Linked DNA regions of Homo sapiens: regions 1 and 3 are each linked to region 2. Evidence: promoter capture Hi-C in 16 types of primary human blood cells and fetal thymus (Javierre and others, 2016). All regions are on one chromosome and are shown on one strand. The core of a region is centred on a gene start or on the middle of the fragment in contact, and the rest is flanking DNA. Distances in the headings are between cores, read along the strand shown.

Evidence for each region. Contacts are between HindIII fragments. The CHiCAGO score rates a contact against its expected background, and 5 or more counts as called.
Region 1: a contact is called between a fragment that was not itself captured here and the fragment with the promoter of PCDHB1 in region 2, in 1 of 17 cell types (neutrophils). The highest score is 5.3, in neutrophils.
Region 3: a fragment that was not itself captured here is called in contact with the fragment with the promoter of PCDHB1 in region 2 in 1 of 17 cell types (neutrophils); the score reaches 5.3 in neutrophils.

Annotation. Positions count from the first base shown.
Region 1 is chr5:141,091,429-141,094,128 of GRCh38, forward strand. It overlaps PCDHB@. Among named protein-coding and RNA genes, the nearest start is that of PCDHB2, 1.8 kb to the right of the region's middle. The HindIII fragment of the contact is 3,290 bases long and covers 1-2,700 here.
Region 2 is chr5:141,050,087-141,052,786 of GRCh38, forward strand. It overlaps PCDHB1 (protocadherin beta 1), which reads left to right and starts at 1,288. Exons shown (of 1, transcript NM_013340.4): 1 at 1,288-2,700. The coding sequence starts at 1,385. It overlaps PCDHB1-AS1 (PCDHB1 antisense RNA 1), which reads right to left. Exons shown (of 4, transcript NR_105056.2): 3 at 793-1,084. It also overlaps PCDHB@. RefSeq lists an enhancer at 869-1,697. The HindIII fragment of the contact is 4,524 bases long and covers 1-2,608 here.
Region 3 is chr5:141,003,306-141,006,005 of GRCh38, forward strand. The region is part of intron 3 of PCDHA1 (protocadherin alpha 1); the gene reads left to right. The region is part of intron 3 of PCDHA2 (protocadherin alpha 2); the gene reads left to right. The region is part of intron 3 of PCDHA3 (protocadherin alpha 3); the gene reads left to right. The region is part of intron 3 of PCDHA4 (protocadherin alpha 4); the gene reads left to right. It also overlaps PCDHA5, PCDHA6, PCDHA7, PCDHA8, PCDHA9 and PCDHA10, and 7 more genes. Among named protein-coding and RNA genes, the nearest start is that of PCDHAC2, 38 kb to the left of the region's middle. RefSeq lists an enhancer at 999-1,591. The HindIII fragment of the contact is 836 bases long and covers 935-1,770 here.

The sequences.
Region 1 (2,700 bases), core at 25-2,524, 41 kb after region 2:
ATAAATTATAATCTAATATATATGATTCCTTATTAAAGGAGATTAAGAAAATAAGAGCATTTGTAAAGAAGGAAGGTGTATTCTCATCAAGGTTTAAGAAAATAAATGATTTAAAATAGCATAGCGGATATAATGCATTTAAAGCTGGAAACCTATATACGAATATAAAATATTGGTGTTGGTTATATAATCTTTGAAAAAGAGAAACTTACTTCTATTTCTAGGTGTGTTAATAGCATTGAAATGAAAGATGGGTAAAACCTTCTGAATTGTGAGGACACATGACAACATGAGAGGTTTTAAAATTTTTTTCACAATAAAACCTAATGTGTTCTTGGTTATTGTATCCTCTGAAATATCTTAGATATTAAGTTTTCTATTCTCCAGCTTGTGAGAAGAGATTATGTTATTTTCTTCATATTACCTATTTTCCTCTCCTTTATGTTATCCCAAATTAACCATAACTGCTTTAGTTCAGAAAACCTGTCCAAAGGAAATAGCCATATACCTGGTTAAATATAAAATTTCGAGTAACCTACCAGTTATAATTTGCCTGTATGATATAACTGATCTTCACTACATCTATTTCGGACCCTAATCAGGTTTTGCAGATTATATAAAAAGCTGTTTTTAAAGACTTGGACCTTGGGTGTTATTCACCTCAATGAATTTGTTTAATGCTCAATGTCAATGAATTAACATATTTTGAATTATTATAACATCCATATAAAAGTAATAATCATGGAAAGCAAAAAATAATATCAACAGGTAGAGATAGGCATTTGTTTTCTAAATGTTAAGAAAAGGAACCTGTGATTATCCTTTTTTTAGCCAGTTACAAGATGATAAATGAGAGCTTTTTAAAATATTATGCTATTGTTACATTTAATAAATCATCCAGTCCAGTTTTCTGAAAATACAGGGGATAGAAGAACAGGTTAAATGATACCATGAGGAAACAATCAAATTTGGAATGTAGGACATCCTACAAAACAACTAGTCTGGACACTTCAGAAATCTAATGTCATTAAAGATGGGGGAGTATTCTAGAGTAAATAGATCTAATAGCCAAATACAATTATCAAAGTTGGTTGAAAAAGTTTCTAAGACATTCCTTATAACAAATAGTTAAAAAAGTAAGTGCATTTGTCAAAGGAACTTGAGTGAGTGTGAATTCTTATCAAAATTGAGGAAAAGATAATGGAAAGACAGTGAAATTTGATTGGGGCTGGATTTTAGATAACTGTAGAATTTTTTTAAATTTTCTTAGGTATGATAGAACCATTATGATTATATGAGATAATATTATAATTATGTGATACCTGCTGAAATATTTAGAGGTGAAATATGATGTCTGCAAGTTACTTTCATATAAGTCATCAGAAAAGCGGGTGTGTGTACAGAATAAGATAGAACAAATATGGTAAAATATAAACAATTGTTAAGTTTGGATGGAGGTTAGAGTTGTAGTTTATGTATAGTTCTTTTAACTGTTCTATATATTTAATTTTTTTCTTCATCCCCCAATTTTTTAACCCAATGGATCTTTTAGAGACACATCCTAATATTTATTATTATTATTATTATTTTGAGATGGAGTCTCGCTTTGTCACCAGGCTTGGAGTGCAATGGCATGATCTCAGCTCACTGCAATCTCCGCCTCCCGGGTTCAAGTGATTCTCCTGCCTCACCCTCCCAAGTAGCTGGGATTACAGGCACCCATCACCATGCCTGGCTCATTTTTTTTGTATTTTTAGTAGAGATGGGGTTTCACCAGGTTGGCCAGGATGGTCTTGATCTCTTGACCTCGTGATCTGCCTGCCTCGGCCTCCCAAAGTAAAATTATTTTTTAAAGCAGCCTTAGAGTTTACAGAAAATTGAGCAAATAGTACAAACAGTTCCCCTCACATACCGATTTTCTCCCACTCAAAGTTTCCCTGTTATCAAAATCTTGCATTACTGTGGTACATTTGTTACAATTGATGAGCCAATACTGGTAAATTATTAACTAAATTTCATAGTTTAGTGTTCACTCTTTGTGTTGTATAGTTCTGTGGATTTTGACAACGGCATAATGTCATGTATCTACCATTGTAGTATCGTAAAGTACCCCATGTTTAACCTCTTCATCCCCCTCCCTCTTCTTCCTAGCTATCACTTGTCTTTTAAATGTCTCTATAATTTGGCCTTTTTCAGAGTATCATGTAATTTGAATTATACAGTATCATTGCCTTTTCAGACTGGATTCTTTCACTGAGAAATATGCATTTAAGTTTCCTTCATGTCATTCTGTGGCTTGATAACTTCTTTATATTAACATTAAAAAAGAAACAAAAAGACAAAATTAAAAAACCTAACAACAAACAATGACATATATACCCTGTTTGGAAGCAGATTGAAGAAACCATCACTGAAAAGACATTTTTAAAGATAATTGGGGAAACTGGAATATTTACTGGCTATTTAATATTATGAAATTGCTCTTTGCTAGATGTGGTAATTGAATTGAGGTTATGTTGAAAGTTCTCCTAGGCATTAGAAAGGAAAATAATATTGATACATTTACAATAAGGAAATATCTGGCTGCTCTTGGAGAGTTTCATGAGGCTCAGACACATCAAAGTTCAGGAAAATGTGAAGTGGGAGCAGTGCAAAGAAAGAAATATGAGTAAGGAGACTATTTCAGTGCCCATTAAAATA
Region 2 (2,700 bases), core at 38-2,537:
AGCACCTGGGACATAAAGTATTGAGCACAAATGAGAAATCAAATGTTTTAGGTAATGAGCATGAGACAGCATCAGAAGACAAGTTCTAGTTCTTACACTGCCATGAGTAGCTGTATGAATTGGGCAAGTGACTTCATCACTTCGGGCCTTAGTTTCTTCATCTGTTTTTTTTTTTTTTTAAAGTGGAGAGTGGGTGAGAAGGAGACTGGATCTCATCTTTCTGAAATGTCTTATTAAACATTCTATTATCCTATGATCATAAAGGAAACTCAACAAATATCTCCTATATTTCTATTAGGTCATTTTCAATATGTGTAAGCAATCTTATTTTATTTGCTTTAAAATCCAAAACCAAATATTTATCTTCATTTGATTTATTCATTATATTATCTGGGAAGCAGAGTAGTGTACTGATTAAGAGCATAGACTTCGGAGTCAGACAAAATTAAATTGAGTTTTATTTCTAACATTTGCTAGGTAGGGGACCTTGACATAACCTCTCCCATCTCACTTTCTTTGTCTTTTTTTTTTTTTAATAATGTCTACTCCATATAGTTGTTGCAAGTATTAAATTAAATAATGCATGTAAATCACTTGTCATAGTCTCAGTACATGGAAATCATATCCAATAAATACTACTGCCATTATAATCATAAGTGACAAGCCAGCTGCTCCCTTTGTGCACGTGTATACAGATATTTGGAGGGGGGCGGAGCGAATACGTAGAAGTAGCATGATAGCGTAGTGCAAATCAAGAGGTCAGTTGGCTTAGTCCCCTGTCAGTGTACTTACTGGACCTCAAGTTTCTGAAGGAGAATGTCTGTTCCCATTCCTTTTCCTACTGACCACTTCCTCCACATTCTCTAGCTCCCTGCCTCATATATTTGGCTTGGGCTTCGGAAGACTCTGCAGGATCCTTGTGCTTCTTTCTTGGTCTCTGGATGGACCGCAGAGTGTGCAGATGTAGCTTAAACTTGTTGCTGTTCGCCCACAGCTTCAGTGGCTCCAGACAGCTAGCAGATAGAATGACTTCAGCTTGAACGACTAATCTCATTGGCTTCTCAATTCCCAAGGACTTTTTTTCCTGAAAGGGAATTAACAGGTGAGTCTGTTGTTGCTTTGGCAACAAACTTTCAACCTCTACCTAACTCTCCGGAATGAGAACATATCTATTAATACATTCGCTAGACTGGGGAGTTGAGTCGCTCAATGCAAATTTTCTTTCAAGTGCAAAACAGCTTAATGGGCTCGGCTAGCCTTTGGTGGTGCTGCAGTTAGAGGCTAGTGAAGCGGAGAGCAGCTGTTGCAGTAACCTGTTGCAGAAAAGTGAAAGTATATCCGCAACAGTTGGCTCTGATTGCAGAGAGCGCGCTTGTGAGAACTGATGGCGGGTACGCGCAGAAAATCTTTGCAAAACAGGCAAGTGGGATCTCTTCTCATTTTTCTGTGCATATCTGTGGGGGATGCGACAACTATCCGCTATTCAGTGGCAGAGGAAATGGAGAGCGGCTCGTTTGTGGCCAACGTAGCTAAGGACCTAGGACTGGAGGTAGGGAAGCTGGCTGCGCGCGGGGCGCGGCTGGTTTCCGAGGGCAACAAAATGCATTTCCGGCTCCACCGCAAGACGGGAGATTTGTTTGTGAAGGAGAAACTGGATCGGGAGTCACTTTGTGGCAAAGCCGACCCTTGTGTTCTGCACTTTGAAGTAGTCCTGGTGGAGCCGCTGCAGTCCTTCCGGGCCGAGGTCAGGGTATTTGATATCAATGACAATGCCCCAGTTTTCCTAAACAAGGAGCCGCTTTTAAAGATTCCGGAGAGCACCCCTTTGGGTTCACGTTTTCCTCTGCAGAGCGCCCAGGATCTGGACGTGGGCCTTAACGGTCTCCAGAACTACACCCTGAGTGCCAATGGGTATTTCCACCTGCACACCCGCTTCTGCAGCCACGGGCCTAAATATGCTGAGCTGGTGCTGAACAAACCCCTGGACCGAGAGGAGCAGCCTGAAGTCAACTTGACAATTACGGCGGTGGACGGCGGGTCCCCGCCTAAGTCTGGCACAGCTCACATCCACGTGGTGGTTCTGGATGTCAACGACCACGTGCCCCAGTTCTCGCGACTGGTGTACAGAGCCCAGGTATCAGAGAACAGCCCCAATGGCTCTTTGGTGGCCACGGTGACTGCCGTGGACCTAGACGAGGGCACCAACAAAGCGATAACTTACTCTTTAGCTCAAAACCCAGAAGCAATTCTCAAGACGTTTCAGATTGACCCTCAAAATGGAGAAGTTCGACTAAGAGGACCCCTCGATTTTGAAGCCATTGAAACATACGACATTGACATTCAAGCTACAGATGGTGGAGGCCTCTCTGCCCACAGCAAAGTCCTGGTAGAAGTGGTGGATGTGAATGACAATCCTCCCGAAGTGATGGTCTCCTCTGTGTCCAGCCCACTCCCTGAAGACTCACCACCACAGACAGTAGTAGCCCTTTTCACTATCAGAGACCGGGACATTCGAGTGGGAGGAAAAGTCACCTGCTTCCTCAGAGAAGACCTTCCCTTTGTAATCAAACCTACATTTGGGAATTCTTACTCACTGGTCACTGACAGAAGCTTGGATCGGGAGGAGGTCTCAGGCTATAATATCACCATTGTTGCCATGGATACTGGACCACCTAGCTTGTCTGCCGAGACTATGATAGA
Region 3 (2,700 bases), core at 103-2,602, 47 kb before region 2:
CCAGCTACTTCCAGAGGGCAGGGTTTTTTGTTTGTTTGCTCTGTCACCCAGGCTGGAGTGCAGTGGTGCAATCTCAGCTCACTGAAACCTCCGCCTCCCGGGTTCGAGTGATTCTTATGCCTCAGCCTCCCAAGTAGATGAAATTACAGGCGTGCACCACCACAGTCTCGCTAATTTTTATAGTTTTAGTAGAGATGGGGTTTCACCATGTTCCCTAGGCTGGTCTTGAACTCCTGGCTTCAAGTGATCCACCTGCCTCAGACTCCCAAAGTGCTGGGATTTTAGATGTGAGCCACCATTCCCGGCCCCAGAGGGCAGTTTTTAAAGTAGAAGTGAAGATCTGTATGCATTTATTAAAATATATGTTGTTCTGATTTTAAAATATATCCCTACCAATTGTGAAGATATCGGCTAATCCAATAAAAAAGCAAAACCATATTTTGTATAATTATGGTCGTATTCTGTTAAATAAACTTTTAAATCCTATTGGGTTGTAATCTGTAGTCTGGGAAGGGCTCTGCCTAACGATTCAGACCCCTACCAGATTTATATGTGTCTGAAATCCTCCTTCTAGCCTCTTAACAGGCCCATTCATTTGGGTCTTGACTGCATCCTCAGTCTTGTCTTTGCCTGAGGGTGAGCTAGGACCCTGGGAGCATAAGGGAGGGGACTTGCCGGAGATCCTAGAAGGGAAAGGAGGCAGCACTGAAAGAAGAAACATTTCCTTGATTGATCATTTGCTGATACTGGCCCCTGGTTGGGGTTAGGGGTAGAAATGTGCTTCTTCCGTTTTCATCTTCTTCAAAAGGGAGTATCTCCATGATTCTGCCCCAAAGGCATGACATTTTATAGGCAAAGCCAGCCAAGTGTCTTGAGTGCTCTTAACCAAAAGGAATTCAGATTAGGAGGTCAGTCAGTGTTTGTCAGATCCTTAAGCTTTTGTTTTACTGGAATGAGTCACAGTCTACATGCTGCTGAGCTCTCAGAGATGTTTGTTTTATACAACAACCAGAACAGGTGAGGCACAGTGGTCTGTGAGGGACTGGAGAGACCACACCTTGTTCTGCTCTGCGGAAGCTGGACATGTGGAGGAGGCACCTGACTAGATCTCTGCCTCCTGGAGTTTAGGCTGAGTCATATAGAACCAGGAAGCTCAGTGACATGTTAAAGTGGATTAACTCTTGGCAGTCCTGCTGTGAGGGGCTCCCTCTGCCAATACACACAGCCATTAATGTCCTTTAACTGTGCAAGATGAACATATCTCTGTGTTCTGCATCTCCAGATGACAGTGCTTAGGCCTCATGCAGAGTCCTGGTTATGGTTGAAGAAAAATTTCCATTTTGGGCTCTGAGGGCAACTAAAGGACTGTGGAGTGGTGCTGAAACCCAGTTTTAGGTGCCGAATCAGAGGTTTTTAAATACATTTCTCTCTTTTGTCTCAGTCTCTTAGAGACAGGACCTGTATTTTAAAGGTAAACAGGCAGATTCTGGCTGAGCTCAATTGCAGATTTGATTAACTTAGATAGATCAAAGTCATTAGTCTCAGAGAAAAAATTTGTTTCTCATCCCTAAAGTGCTATTGTGTCAGCTCTGCCAGGGTGTAAGGAAAAGGGTTTGGAAGAGAGAAGAAAATTTCTTACCCTCTCTCGTCACTGCCTGCTGTAAATTTGCAGTATCATTATCTTGGTCTCCTAAGCCCTGAGAGCTGCATTATATATAATTGCCCATATGTGATACCATTTACTGAATTCTTGCATTGTGCTAAGGATCAAGCTTAGTACTTTACATGCATTACATCATTGTCTTTAGGGACCCCAAAAGTGCCTCATTGGAGAGTTGTTTGGTCTGCTAAAGAGTGGGTACCACTTTCACTTCTCACATCAGTCCTTTCATTCATTCATCCAGCAAGTATTTACTAAACACCTGTTATGGGCCAGGAATTGTGCTAGGCACTGGTGATACATTGGTGAATAAACAGATACATTTTTTGCCTTTGTGAATCTTACAGTGGTAGAGAATAATAGGCCAAGGGGGTGCTGCTTGGCTAGGAATGTCATAGAATGCCTTTCCAAGGAGGTTACATTTAATACAGACTTGAAGAGTGAGGAGTCATGCTAAGAATGGATGAGAGGCTCACGCCTGTAATCCCAGCACTTTGGGAGGCCGAGACGGGCGGATCATGAGGTCAGGAGATCGAGACCATCCTGGCTAACACGGTGAAACCCCGTCTCTACTAAAAATACAAAAATTAGCCGGGCATGGTGGCGCGTGCCTGTAGTCCCAGCTACACAGGAGGCTGAGGCAGGAGAATGGCGTGAACCCGGGAGGCGGAGCTTGCAGTGAGTCGAGATCGCGCCACTGCACTCCAGCCTGGGCGACAGAGCGAAACTCCGTCTCAAAAAAAAAAAAAAAAAAAAAAAAAAAAAAGAATGGATGAGAAATCATTCAAGACAAAAGCAAACCAGATGTGTAAAGATCCTGAGGCAAAAACAACTCCAAGGAGCCAGGTATGGTGGCCTGTAGTCCCAGCCACTTGGGAGGCTGAGACAGGAGGGTCGATTGAGTCCAGGAGTTTGAGGTTACATCAAGCAATGATTGCACCACTGCACTTCAGCCTGGTTGACAGAGTGAGAACCTATCTCTAACAAACAACAATAAAAAAACAATTCCAAAGAGTGTTTGAGGATCTGAAAGAAGGCCT